Linked DNA regions of Homo sapiens: region 1 is linked to region 2. The links are contacts of gene promoters, found by promoter capture Hi-C in human tissues and cell types (Jung and others, 2019). All regions are on one chromosome and are shown on one strand. The core of a region is centred on a gene start or on the middle of the fragment in contact, and the rest is flanking DNA. Distances in the headings are between cores, read along the strand shown. Region 1 holds the start of PNOC (prepronociceptin). Region 2 holds the start of CLU (clusterin).

Region 1 (7,325 bases), core at 1,532-4,031, 710 kb before region 2:
CCTTACACTGTGGACCTGTGTGACTGCAGACAAGTCCTGAGATGGTCAGTCCTTTCAACTACAAAGTGGGGATAATAACAGGTTTGTTGTTACATTGATGCTGAAACTTTATACTTTGTAACGGTGGGACTGTGTGCAAATTATTTCACTTCTGTGAGCCTCAGTCTTCTCAACTGTGAAATGGGAATAGTGACAGGTTGTTGCTATTTTTATACAACCATAGCAAACATCAGTAAATCAAAAGTTACCTGAGTAGGCTGAATTTTCCATGGCTTGTATTTCACTTCGTGAGCCAAGCTCAGCTAATACTTCTATGTGGCAATACTATATTCTGAGCGTCTCATATTGAATAAAGAAATGTTGAATTGCCTTTTCTTTTGGTAATGACACCTCATAAATTTAATTGTGCCTTGCTGTTTATAAAGATAAAATACCACTATGGCTTGGCCTTAATCGATTTGCATGTAATCTTGCTTCCAAGGGCAATATAATTAGTTGCTTATCTGTTTGGAGAATCACATATGCAGCTTTAGCCGAAGCTGGACCCTAATTGAGTTTTGTCTTATGACCTATTCGAAGTCCTGTAATTTTGATGCTGCCAGCAGAGAAGAGGGGACTGCTCTTGCTAGAGGCAGATACACCTCCATCCTTTTCATCAACCACATGTAGAGAATATTCTTGACAGGTTACCAAAAAATTTTATATTCATATATTATACAACCCTGTAATCTAGGGTTAATATCAACCCACCTTTTAAAATGAACATAAACTCTTAGAGGTTAAGCAAGTTGACTAGGATCATCCGGTTTATAAGTAGCAGAGCCAGGACTTAAACTCAGGTGTGTTGACTTCAAACCATGTGTTCTGGGAAACCATCAACTTTACACACTGTTTCTGCTTTTGGAAGATTGCCAGATTCTGATGGCATCTCATTGCGGTGGAATCTATTTGCATTTCATAGCAATCATATTGCTATGACTTTAGAGCACTATGAGCCAGGCTTTGCGCTAATTGCTTTATAAGCATCACCCTATGGGGTAAGTGCTATCATCCCCATTTTATAGTTGAGCAGATTGAGGCTTGAGGAGCTGATGTAACTTGAAGTGGCAGAGCTGGGACTTATGTCTGACCCTGCCTGTCAGTGATCCCAGCAGCTGTCTTCATGTAGGGCTTCCTCTTGTCCTGAAGTCTGTACTCCCTGTCTGATGACAACCTTTTTTATTTACTTCTTATTTTTTATTTTTTGGAGATGGAGTCTCGCTCTGTTGCCCAGGCTGGAGTTCAGTGGCGCTATCTTGGCTTACTGCAAACTCTGCCTCCTGGGTTCAAATGATTCTCCCGCCTCAGCCTCCTGAGTAGCTGGGATTACAGGTGCCCGCCACCATGCCTGGCTAATTTTTTTTGTATTTTTAGTAGAGACGGGGTTTCACCACGTTGGTCAGTCTGGTCTCAAACTCCTGACCTCGAATGATCCTCCCGCCTCAGCCTCCCTAAGGTGCTGGGATTACAGGCATGAGCCACTGTGCCGGGGCTGATGACAACCTCTTTATGGTGGCTTCTCTCCAGTCCACACAGGGATCCTTCATTATGCACCAGCTGCATGTCCATCAGAAGATAGGTGGGTCTTCCCGATGCCCCATTTCTTAGACCCATTGCAGATAAGACTCCTACAATGGAGCTTATGCTTGTTTACCAGCTATTATGGAGAGAGGCTGCTTTAGTTTCTTTTCCTCTTCTGGCTGATACAATTACACTTCAAGTGTCTCTCCTCTCATCTAAATTTCCACCTGGAAAGAGGGGGACGGCATAGAGGAGGTGGAGGAAAGAACAATTGCCCAGCCCAGCACAGGTCAAGCATTCCCCAGGCTGGAGAGAAATGAACGCGTGAGAGCTGTGCTCAGAAACAAGAGTCCTGGCTTCTAGTCTGGCTCTGTCGTTACCTGTGGGATTTTAAGCAAGACCTTTTCTCTCTGGGCCTCAGCTTTTCCCTCTATAAGAAGAGGCAGTTAGATGAGATGGTTGATATTCTCTGATTTTATGAATGGCCAGATATTTGTCCTTTCCTGGAAGTAAGGATGGAAGGAAGAAGGGAAGAGGAAAAGGAGATGAAGGCTTTATGGGGAAGTAGCTTCCGGGCAGCATGAGGAAAGCCATAGAAAGAGTGTGGAGGGGGCAAAAGACACACGTTCAGGGCTACTGCAGGTGGGAAGGTAGCTCTCAACTCCCATCTTCCTGGTTCTGGGCCACACTCCCACATATACTGGCAACATAATTTAAATAGATTTTGGAAAGCTTTTATTTACTTTTAGCTGGGTGTATTGGCATGCAACTGCAATCCCAGCAACTTAGGACGCTTGAGCCCAGGAGTTTGAGACCAGCTTGGGGAACATAGTAAGACACCTATCTCTACAAAAAAAAAAAAAAAAAAAAATTTAGCTAGGTGTGGTGGTGCACATCTGCAGTCTTAGCTATTCAGAAGGTTGAGGCAGGAGGATAGCTTGGGCCCAGGAGGTTGAGTCTGCAGTGAGCTATGATTGTGCCACTGCACTCCAGTGTGGGTGACAGAGTGAGACCCTGTCTGTAAACAACAACAACAACAACAAAAGACCTGCCTGGGCAATATAGCAAGACCTCCAACTCAAAAAGAAAGAAAGAAAAGCTTTTATTTACTTTTATGTAATAAAATCATTCGGTGTTCTTTTCTAAAATATTGGAAAACACAGAGAAACAGCAATGAATCTAGGACAACAATCTTCAAACTTCTTCTTCTTTTTTTTTTTTTTTTTTGAGATGGAGTCTCGCTCTGTCACCCAGGCAGGAGTGCAGTGGTGTGATCTCGGCTCACCGCAACCTCCACCTCCCGAGTTCACGCCATTCTCCTGCCTCAGCCTCCCGAGTAGCTGGGACTACAGGCGCCCACCGCCACGCCCAGAGAATTTTTTTGTATTTTTAGTAGAGACGGGGTTTCACCGTGTTAGCCGGGATGGTCTTGATCTCCTGACCTTGTGATCTGCCCACCTCGGCCTCCCAAAGTGCTGGGATTACAGGCATGAGCCACTGCGCCCGGCCAAACTTCTTTAACTTTGTACCCCTAGCAGTCGATTTTGAGTACACATTCCTAATTTATTTATAAGTTACATACATTATAAAATCCACTAAAATGCAAATTAAGAAAGGTAAGATAAAAACAAAAGTCTCAGTCTCCTGAAGCCCATTGTGAGTTTGGAGGAAGCCAGCGCTCTGGCCACCCTGTGCTCCTGGCACTTGCTCTGTGTGGCTCCTATCAGGAACCCCACACACGTTCCTTGGCCGAATGAATGAAAGGATGAATGGGGAAGGAGGGTGGGGGGAAGATTGCAGGCCAGTGTGGAAAGAGGGGAGGTTGGATCTGAGCCACTGTGGGATGGCAGAGCTGGGGTGCATGGTGAGGCATGCTATCTACTCCACCTGCCAGGCTGGGCCCCCGGGCTGATGATTTTGTGCTTCTGCAATGTTGAAGCAGCTGCCAGTATTTTGAAAAAAAAAAAAAAAAAAAAAAAAAAAAAGAAAGAAAGAAAGAAAGAAACAAACAAAAAAAACCCCACAGGATCGTGGAAAATTGAGACTGAAACTAATTGTAGCCTATCCAGGGAGATGCCCAGAAAACTGGCTTGCCCCTGAAATCGATGTGCTCCAAATCTCATGACTAGTTTGTGATTAGATGGAAAACTTTATGTTCGACTGTGGGATTTAAATAAAGGCGTTTAGAAAATCCAGTTTGCTTCATGACTGCCCAGCAATTCAAGCCACTGCCAGCCACTCATTGTCAGGACGGCTCCCGTTTTCTGAGAAGGGCCCGTCCCTTTCCTAAGATATCTGAGGAGTAGCTCCACCCAGACTCGGAATGCAAGATATTTCAAAGCTTCCTTCGTGGGCTTTGGGAGCTGTGGAGCTGGATGGAGAAATGAGGGATCACTGAACCGTGTCAGTGCAAGTAGAGAACGCTCACCTGAAACTTCCCATTCCTACCAGTGTGCATATGTGCATGTGTGTATTAGCATGAAATAAGCACGTAGACAAGCTTAGCTCACTGCCTGGCACAGAGTGGGTTTCAAGAAATGTTAATTCCTTTGCCCTCATTTTATGTGTTTGACCTGGCTGCTGCCTCCCTCTTCAAAGCCCTTCACCCATCCAAATTCCACCTGCCTTCTCACTTGGTAGGATCCCAGGAATGCCTGGAGGAAATGCTCCTTCTCCCGAATTCTTCTAGCACTTGCTCTCTGGATTATGTGATTTAGGACTGAATTACACCCTGCCTTGCATGGTCCTCTAATTGTTTCTCATGTTTGTGTTACGTCTCTCCTCTACCCCCGACCCCACTATGAGTTCATAAGCACCCCTGACCGTAACGGGGAGATGAACTGGAGCCACAATGCCTTGGCTCAGTCCTGACCCTGCCATGTACTGAATAAATCATTTAATCTCTCAGTTTCAGTTTCTCCAACTGCAACACCGAGATAATGGCACCACCTCACAGGGCTGTTGCTGGGATAATAGGTGTGAAAGCGCCTAAATCGTTGTACAAATGTAAAGTGCTGTTATTATCACCTCTGCTGAATCTACTAGAGCCCCTGCAAGCCTCCCTGCCTGGTGGAGTGTAGACGGTAACTACCTGATTGATTGAATACAGGATAGCTTAGTGACAGCTCTTGTCATAGGCTCCAGGGAGCACAGGTTTGAGCCTAATCCTGCAATCACTCCCTTCACTGACAATGCAAACTCGCCTGCATTTTACAAATCCGTAAGTACTCTCAGCCTTCAGCTGATAAAGCAGGGGCTGCTGCCCTGTGCGCAACAAAACTGCGCCCTCAAAATGACCCGAGGCTGTACCACAGCGCCCTCGCCAGGCAGCACCAGGCGGCACATGCTTTTACAGAGGTGGTGATGGTTGGGGATGGGTTTTCCAGGGACCCTCCTCTGCAGAAGACTCAGCAAGCCCAAAGGAGCACGAATCCTTTTTGTTAAAGGTAACATAGCCTCAGTGTAAGCTTGTAGAATATTTCCCTGCCACACTTTACAAATGAGAAAAAAAGAGGCTGCATGCAGTAGCCACCCACAAGCAGCGAAAAAGAGCAGTATTTGCTTTGGGAGGTTTTGATAAGAAGCCAGGCAGTTACTTTTCCCATCTATGTTGAAAACTCTGGTTTGGGCTTGCTGGCGAATGCCGTGCAAAGCTCATCTTTTGTTAGTCTGCCGAACAATGTTATTGGTTATAATTGGGGCAATTATGGGCTGCTTGAGGAAGCTAAACACAGATGTTTAAGCGCAGGATGGGGGTATTCAAGTCCAAAGCAGCTTGCTTTAAATAGTCCATTTCCCGAATCATCCTGCCTTACTTGAAATTCCCCCAGAACTTGCCCATGTTCAGAGCGAGATTCGGGGAGGAGGGGCTGGGTAGTGAAGCCGGGGAAGCAAGACTCGAGGGAGAGAGATGCACAAAGAGAGGAGGAAGAAAGAAGGTGGCTGAGAGAGCCTCGAGAGTTGGGATGCGGTGACTATGAACGGAGTATTCTGCATGACCTGGGCAAAGACCTTTAGGTGGGGGAGATGGGCAGGGGGAGAGGGATGCCAAGCAAGAGAAGAGCCCTCTAAATGAATCGGGTTCTGGGAGACCAAGGTCACGCCCGTAGAAATGCTCTCTGGAATTCACACGCCGTGGCGCTCAGCAGTGTGTGTATACAGGTGAAGCACACTCCCCAGATCTGGCGCTTCCCCATTATTTGTAGCAATTTCTGCTGGGGGCAGAAGGGAGAAGGGCTCCCTCCGGATTAAAAACTCCCATCTGGATGGCATCAAGTTCAGTGATAGGCGGAGAAGCAGCCTGCGCACCGCATCTGAGAGGAAAGGAAGCCACTGAGAGGAAACCCTCATGAGGGGGCCAGGGTCTTCCTGGGGGCCGCCCCGTGGAAGGCAAACCCCCTCCCAAGTGCCTGCCCCTCCTCTGGCCTCACTCCTCCAGCAGCCTCCTCTCGACACAGAGCAACAACCACGTAGGGGCCACAGCTGGGGAAGCAAAACTTTTCCTCATTTCCAAGTTCCCCTCTTTCTGCTTCTGCGTCTGTCTGAGGTTAAAAAAGAGACTCAGCCCTCCCCCGTTCCCCACCATCCAAGCGCTACAAAGGAGATGAATGAAGAAACCATCTCGCAAGAGGCCAGCAGCATCCACACTGGACAAAGGAGAGAGGCCGAGGAGCCAGCCCCTGGTGGCCCTGCCCTCCCGGAGCTCCACGCAGTTAGTCCAGTTAGTCGCGGTCGGGCTGGGGGCCCCGTGCAGTTGCCTACCTGAGAGCTGTCAGTCCCCGGCTCCCTCCGATGGATGCGAGGCTCGGTTCCGCTTTCTCAGCCACACCAGCATATATATCCTCTCCCCCACGCACAGCCCTCCCCTTCCCTGCCCACCTCCATGACACATACACACACTGACCCCCTTCAGCAACCAAACAGCAGAACCTGCAAGCCTTCCTGGCTGTTCCCTTCCCCCGGCTCTGCCATCAGACCTGTGACATCCCCACCTCCCCATCAATCCATTCTCAAGCCTGCTTCACCTGGACTCTGTTCAGCCAGGATCCCACAGCTGCCTTCCCTGTGCTTCCAGAGGCTCTGTGAGGACTGATGGGGAGCTCTGGCAAGTCAGAAAAAAAGCCTCCTGGTGACAGTGACGAGGCAGACCCCAAATCCTGGAGTCTCCTTGAGCAACCTTTTTGCCTGAGGAGTGAAGAATAGGAGGCAGGCAGAAGGGAGGGGAGCTCATGCCAAGCTCCTACCGACTCGGAGGAGCCCAGGGCTGAGCTAAGCCAAGCCCTGACCTAATGTCATTGCCCCTAACTAGGCCACTCAAGAGGTGGCTGCACCTGCCCTGGGCCAGGTCAGGAGGCATTTCCACAGGTGCCCACAGCATGGTGCAATGGAGAATGCTGAGACTCGAGGCTCAGATGGAAGTGTCTGAAATTCGGCTGTACAGTCAGAGCAAGGCACATCTCTTTGTGAACCTCAAGTCCTCCTTCCGGAAAATGAGTCTAATACTGCCCAGGATGGTTGTGAGTAGAAAAAGGAGATTCTGTTTGAATCTACAACACACGAGGCCCTTAATGAATGTGCTGCATCCTCCCTCTCCTCTCAGCCCGCTTTTCACACTGATTAGTACCACCTGGATGTAGAAATCCCATATCAGTGTCTGGTGTCACAACAGAGAGCTTTTAAAGCTTCTGCAACTTAGGGCATCACTACCGAGGGCCCTGGAGGCTCAGAAGCTCTGGAAGCTTCCCTGTCCCTTACTGCAGAGCCTC
Region 2 (7,001 bases), core at 3,146-5,645:
ATGATCGAATTAGGGTAATTAGCAAATCCATCCTTTTGTTTGTTTGTTTGTTTGTTTTTGGATGGAGTCTCACTCTGTTGCCAGGCTGGAGTGCAGTGGTGCGATCTCAGCTCACTGTAACCTCCAGCTCCCGGGTTCAAGCAATTCTCCTGCCTCAGCCTCCCGAGTAGCTGGGACTGCAGGCGCGTGCCACCATGCCCAGCTAATTTTTGTATTTTTAGTAGAGACAGGGTTTCACCATGTTGGCCAGGATGGTCTCTTGACCTAGTGATCTCCCCACCTCGGCCTCCTGAAGTGTTGGGATTATAGGCGTGAGCCACTGCACCCAGCCTTTCACTAAGTTAAAAAAAATTAAAACTGACACGAGAATGGTACATATTTGTGGGGTACAATGTGATGTTTTGATACGTGCACACATTGTGTAAGGATCAAATTAGGGTAATTACCAAATCCATCTCAAACATTTCTTTGTGGTGAGAACATTGTAAGTTCTCTCTTCTACCTATGTTGAAATATACATTATTCAAAAAATAAGAGGTGCTGGTGAGGTTGTGGATAAAAGGGAAGGCTTATATACACTGTTGGTGGGAGTGTAAATTAGTTCAACCATTTTGGAAAGCAGTGTGATGATTCCTGAAAGAGCTAAAAACAGAATTAACATTTCACCCAGCAATCTCATTACTGGGTATATATAGGAATATAAATTGCTCTGCCATAACGACACATGCACTCATATGTTCATTGCAGCACTATTCTCAATAGCAGAGGCATGGAATCAACCTAAATGCCCATCAGTGGCAGACTGGATAAGGAAAATATGGTATATATACACCATGGAATACTACGGTATACACCATGGAATACTATGCAGCCATAAAAAAGAACGAGATCATGTCTTTTGCAGGAACATGGATGGAGCTGGAGGCTATTATTCTAAGTGAAGTAACACAGGAACAGAAAACAAAATTCTGCATGTTTTCACTTATAAGTGGGAGCTGAATGATGAGAACACATGGACACATAGAGGGGAGCAATAGATACTGGGACCTAAAAAAAAAGTTAAACTCTACTATGCGATAGAATACCAGAACTTATCCCTCCCATCTGACTTTAACTGTGTACTGGTTGACCAATCTCTCACCATCCTCCCTCCCTGCTCCCCTTGGAGAGTGATTCTCTTATTTTTTTCATTTTTATTTTTGAGAGACAGGGTCTCACTTTATTGCCCAGGCTGGAGTGCAGTGGTGCGATCGTAGCTCACTGCAGCCTTGACCTCCTGGGCTCAAGCGATACTCCATCTCAGCTTCCTGAGTAGCTGAGATTGCGGGCATGCACTACCATGCTTGGCTAATTTTTTAATTTTTGTAGAAACTGGGTCTTGCTATGTTGCCCTGGCTGGTCTTGAACTCCTGGACTCAAGTGATCCTCCCACCTCAGCCTCCCAAAGTGCTAGGATTACAGGTGTGAGTCACCACGCCCATCTGAGAGTGATTCTTAATCACAGGCCACAGGATACTGCTCTTGCCCATTCCTAGTTTGTTCCAGCTGTATCAGACTGCTGGCTGAGCTGTCCTGCTTGTGGTGCTGAGCCAGACAAAGGCTGGTTGGGGATGTGTAATAAGGACACTGCGTAGCGAAGCAGCCCCAGAGACATTCAGGCAGCCAGAGATGGTGCACAAAGCATAGATAAACAGATAAATGCAAGGGTCTTTACTCATCCCTCCCTGGCCCTCCCCATGGCTCTGACTCTCCAAGAAAATAAATCAAGCTAATGCCCCAAACCCAGCTGTGTAAGTCCATAATGGGAGACAGAGGATCAAACAGCAGCACCTGCCAAGAAGATGATGCATTCTCTATGAATCAGCCCAGTGACTCAGCATCTGATAAAGCTTATTTGGAGTGTTTAGGGCAAGGGAAGGGGTGGTCCTGTTCTGCTTTGTGTGCTCAGGCCCTCCGGCATTGGCTGGTCCAAGGCTCCCCACTGGCATTGGCTAGTCCAGGGCTGGGCCAAGGGTTTCAAGAGAGATGAGGTCCAGAATGTCAAAGGGCTGGGGAAAAGTCTGCAAACCACGGCAAGGCAAGGAGCTGCAAGCCTGGAGGTCACTGGGAAAAGCAGACTACGTTGCCTTCAAATATCAGAAGGGGCACTATGGGAGAGATAGGCTGGATTTTCTCTGTGTGGCTCCAGAGGGCAGAACTGGGCTCCGGATTGGCCCATACACGAGCCAGACTGTGACTCAACCAAAGAAGGCCCTAACTTTATCAACAGCTTTACTAGACAAATGGTTGCATGGCAGGTAGTGAGCTCCCTGTTATTGGTGGCATTCAAACATGGGCAGGATGACCACCGGGTGCAGATGCTGGGGATGGGGTAGGAATCAAGCAGTGTGTGAGTCCTGAACCAATCAATGTCTATGATCTGCTTAGAATATGAAACATCTGGTGATGCATTTATGGCGCTTTCAAAATTTACACTTTTCTTTCCTCAAAGTTTGACCTTCTGAACCTTGTTTGCTTAGTAGTGGGAATAATCAAGTAATTATTCCCAAGGGATCACAGTCATGACTGTGAATCTGTGAATCATGCTATTTTCTCCCAAGTCCTTTCTTCCTCTCTTCCCTTCCCCTAATTCAGCTGGCTAAGGCGGATCTCACTGACTGACCTCCAAAGTCTAATTTTTAAAAATATAACTAGATTTATGCCTTCTGTTCCGGATGCTGAGGGAGCTACAGAACAGAAAAGTTACAAGGAGCGAGCTCAAAAACAATTCTTCTAACCTCAGGTATTGATAAGGAGCAGGCACTGATAAGGAGCAGGCACTGTCCACAGAAAATGTAGCTGTTACTGATAATTAGACATTTTTTTTTTAAGAAAAATAAAGTGTAGCCTCTTCTGGGACATTTTTTTCTTCTTCTGGGTTAATGGCCTTCTAATACTTGGCTTGGCTCTAGGTTAGGTTGCAGGGAGCCGTGGAGATGATCCATTCCCGATTCCTCATCGTCCAGATGGAAGAAACTGAGGCCCAAGGGCAAAGTGATTAGTCCGAGGTCACCCAGTGTCTAGGGGCACACCTAGGACTGTAATCAGACTTTCATGGACCTGGTCTGGGTTCTCCCACTTAGTCATGGGCCTTGAAGATTCCCCGAGGCTGCCTCCTGAAAAGGACTGGGGTCCTAGTGGCCCCTGGACGTTGGGCAAGCAAGGGACTGGGCCTCCATGTTGTGCCTCCATAGTCCTGATCCTGAACTGGAAAACTCAGCCCCTGACCACGCAGCTCTCCTTTAAGCCCCTTTGTTTCACATGGTTTTCAAAGTCTGCCACCCACAGTGGGGCTGCCTGTACCCGCCCTGTCCACCCATTGCCCCAGCTGTCAGCCCCTTGACTTCTCTCCTGGGGCTTAAACATCCCTGGCTCCAAAATGGGCAGCTCACTTTCTTCCCCAAGAAGTAGCTGCACCTCCAGGGTTCCTAGATTTGCCCCTCCTTGCCAGGGGGAGGGGTGGCTGCGACAGGAGATTCTCCCTGCTCTCAGCAGAAGGAACTCCAGCAGTTGGAGACCAGCAAACCCCTCTGGACACAGATCTGATTTCCTAACTGGGAAGGCTCAGGGCAAAATAAAAATTCAGGTCCACTGGTTCAAAAACTATGAAGAATTTCAAGACCGTCACAGTAGCCCATTAAACCAAACGTGGATCTGCAAGGGTCCCACAGCCATGAAGCCCACCCTGCTTGGTTGGGTTCCAAAAAGATGGGGACAGTGATTGCTTAAGCTCTGTGGATCAAGGACCCCGGAGAGGCCTTCTGGCTCTCCACATATCTGCTCTGATCACTCCTAAACACAATTCTGTTTCCTCCAGGCCTGGCGGGTCAGTCCAGGGACCCCCATCAGTGTGATGTTTCCAGGAGTAGGCGTTTCAATACTTCCTGTGCTCTCTTCTCCAGCACAAGGCCCCTCTCCATCCCACCCTCATTATGTCTGACTCTTTACTATTTAAATGGGTCAAGAGAAGTGGCGCTTGTGTAATGTGAAGGTTAAGGTCAGTAGGGCCAGGGAACTGTGAGATTGTGTCTTGGACTGGGACAGACAGCCGGGCTAACCGCGTGAGAGGGGCTCCCAGATGGGCACGCGAGTTCAGGCTCTTCCCTACTGGAAGCGCCGAGCGGCCGCACCTCAGGGTCTCTCCTGGAGCCAGCACAGCTATTCGTGGTGATGATGCGCCCCCCGGCGCCCCCAGCCCGGTGCTGCACCGGCCCCCACCTCCCGGCTTCCAGAAAGCTCCCCTTGCTTTCCGCGGCATTCTTTGGGCGTGAGTCATGCAGGTTTGCAGCCAGCCCCAAAGGGGGTGTGTGCGCGAGCAGAGCGCTATAAATACGGCGCCTCCCAGTGCCCACAACGCGGCGTCGCCAGGAGGAGCGCGCGGGCACAGGGTGCCGCTGACCGGTGAGATGTCCCCGTCTTCCCTACCCTTGAGCAGAGCCACACCAGGACGGATGGGCGGGCAGGGGATGGCAGCCAGGCAGAGAGGGATGACACAGCTCGCAGTCACAACCCCTGCGCTTTCGACGGAGCCCAGGAAGCCAGGGAGGGGAGGTGGCCGGAGCCCCATCACCAGGCAGCTGAGCCAGGGGCCCCGGCGCAACCGCCGCCTGAGAGCACGAGCTCCAACCACAATTCTGTGGTGGGGGGGTAAATAGAACAGATATAATGATCATCCTTTCGCAAAGATGGGGAAACTGAGACCTGGAGACCTGCCGCGTTGCGGGAGACCCAGGCTAGCAGGTGACAGAGCTGGCCTGCACCGAGCTCCTTCCTGCAGCATATCCTCTGCGAAGATGCGGATCTCTCAGTTGTGGCTTTCGGCTTGCATGCATGAGTCATCTAGTTTTCTTCTAAATTCTCTAGCTCTCTGGACACTGTTGCCTGTAAGTATGAGGCTGCGGATTTCAGTATATGCTGCAACCACCGAAATCCGACTTTTTCTGCCTCCTAATGCATCTGAGGTGCATCAGAGAAAAGTCACACAAGATCCACCAGGCCTCAGACCTCTGATTCCACAGTCTCATTTTACAGATGATAATCTGAGGCCTGGAGAGGTTTAGGACTGGTGCCAACACTAAACAGCAAATAAGTATCAGAATTGGGATTCGAGCCAAAGCCTCTTGACCTTCCAGAATTTCTGGACCTAGTTAAAAAAAATATGATTTTTATTATTATTTTTTAAACGGAGAGGTTAGGAATTTAAAGGAAAGTACAGATACTATATAAAAAAAGATGCCCATGAAAATGTTAAGTTATAATAATAGTGGAGCATTGGGCACAACTGAAATGGCCAATCTTGTGAGAATGGTAAAATAAACTTAGGTCCGTGAGTAAGTGGAGTATTACATAGCCATAAAAGTATGCCCTTAAAGAATATTTGAAGATGGTGAATGTGAAGAATCTTGTATAAACTGCATGGAAGACAGAAGGAAATATACCACAGTGCTAACCTTTGCCTCTGGGTGATATGAATTACCGGTGATTATTTTTCTTATTTTCCTTTTGGTTTAGTTTTCTCCATTTGAAGAAGCAGATAGGAGCCGGGGCTTTGGGATTGAAACCCTCACCATCTGTGTGCCCTCTTCACTGTCTTCCCATCCTCCCCACGGCTCCCTGTTCACAGTCATTGATTTTCTTTCTTTCTTTTCTCTCTTTTTTTTTTTTTTTCCTGAGACCAAGTCTCACTCTGTTGCCCAGGCTGGAGTAGAGTAGCGCCATCTCGGCTCACTGCAACCTCCGCCATCCGGGTTCAAGCAGTTCTCATGCCTCAGCCTCTGAGTAGCTGGGACTACAGGCGCATGCTGCTACATCCGGCTAATTTTTGTATTTTTAGTAGAGACATGGTTTCACCACCTTGGCCAGGCTGGTCTCGAACTCCTGATCTCAAGTAATCCGCCTGTCTTGGCCTCCCAAAGTGCTGGGGTGACAGGTGTGAATCAATGCGCCCTGCCAGGTCATTGATTTTCTTAAGCCTCCAGCCCTGCCCTGCTTGGAAACGTTTTGGGAAGCTGCTCAGTTCAAAGTTCCCAGGAGGGTGTGCCTGGAGGGGAGTTGCTCCCAAAGTCTGCCTGCTCCCCCCGCCCCCCCTGCCCCCCACCCCCCGCCATCTTCTCCTCCTCCTCTTCCCCTGAGCAGCCCCTTTGTCCACAGAACCGGCCTTTTCTGGTAGAAGGAGCAAGGCCAAGTGGTTTAAGCCTTCTTAGGGAGAATGAGGCTGTGTGGTAGTGCTGGGGACTCGAGGGCCTTGGCCTTGGCATGGCTCTTCCACCCAGGGCAGCTGGCAGCCAGGCTCCCAGGAGGCAGAGGAGATGAGGGGGGAGGTGAGTCCGAGCAAAGGAAAGGAGGTCGGCTGTGCAGTCACGGTTCTAGAACATTCCTTGGATCAGCAGCATCCATATCACCTGCAGACTGGCTGGAAAAGCAGTCTCAGAACCAACATTATAACCAGCCCTGCAGTGATTCATAAGTACTTTAAAAAGTGGTCAATCATTTCAGCAAAGCAGAGCCACACAGTCCGGGGGACCACAGGTGGCCTCTGTGTGCTTGTCTCGGTTTTCCTGCCCCTCTCCAGACATGTTGATTAGACACTGCCAATGCCCAGCCTCAGACCTCAGTCTAATTTGGAAGTAGTCAGAATTTACTATGATTACATAAGACCCTCGTGTTTACAGAACACATTCCCCTCTCTGAGGTCTGGATTAGATCCATTTTACAGATGAAGAAACTGAGGCTCAGATATTTAAGTGACTTGGAATCAAGGAAAGAATACTGGACTAGGGGTCGGGAGGGCTGGGCTCTCATCCCAGGGTTACCATGAGCATGCTGTGGACTCTAGGGAGTCCCATGCCCTCTCTGGGCTTCAGCCTCACCGCTAGGGTAGAGAGGTTGGGTGAGAGAACGACCTCCTTCCCAGGTCTGAGCTGGATGGTTCACCAGGGACCCCAGGCTCCCTGGAGCAGACT

Evidence for each region. The method cuts DNA at HindIII sites, captures the fragments that hold promoters and counts their contacts. A contact is called where the count stands out against the background at its distance.
Region 1: a contact is called between a fragment that was not itself captured here and the fragment with the promoter of CLU in region 2, in 1 of the 25 tissues and cell types used here (hippocampus).

The regions. Positions count from the first base shown.
Region 1 is chr8:28,316,313-28,323,637 of GRCh38, reverse strand. PNOC (prepronociceptin) reads right to left here and starts at 6,370. Exons shown (of 4, transcript NM_006228.5): 1 at 6,322-6,370. RefSeq lists enhancers at 4,353-4,864, 4,865-5,377. The HindIII fragment of the contact is 3,527 bases long and covers 1,018-4,544 here.
Region 2 is chr8:27,612,094-27,619,094 of GRCh38, reverse strand. CLU (clusterin) reads left to right here and starts at 4,395. Exons shown (of 9, transcript NM_001831.4): 1 at 4,395-4,440. RefSeq lists enhancers at 1,760-2,516, 2,807-3,307, 4,264-4,763 and silencers at 4,152-4,241, 5,797-5,982. The HindIII fragment of the contact is 13,101 bases long and covers 1-7,001 here.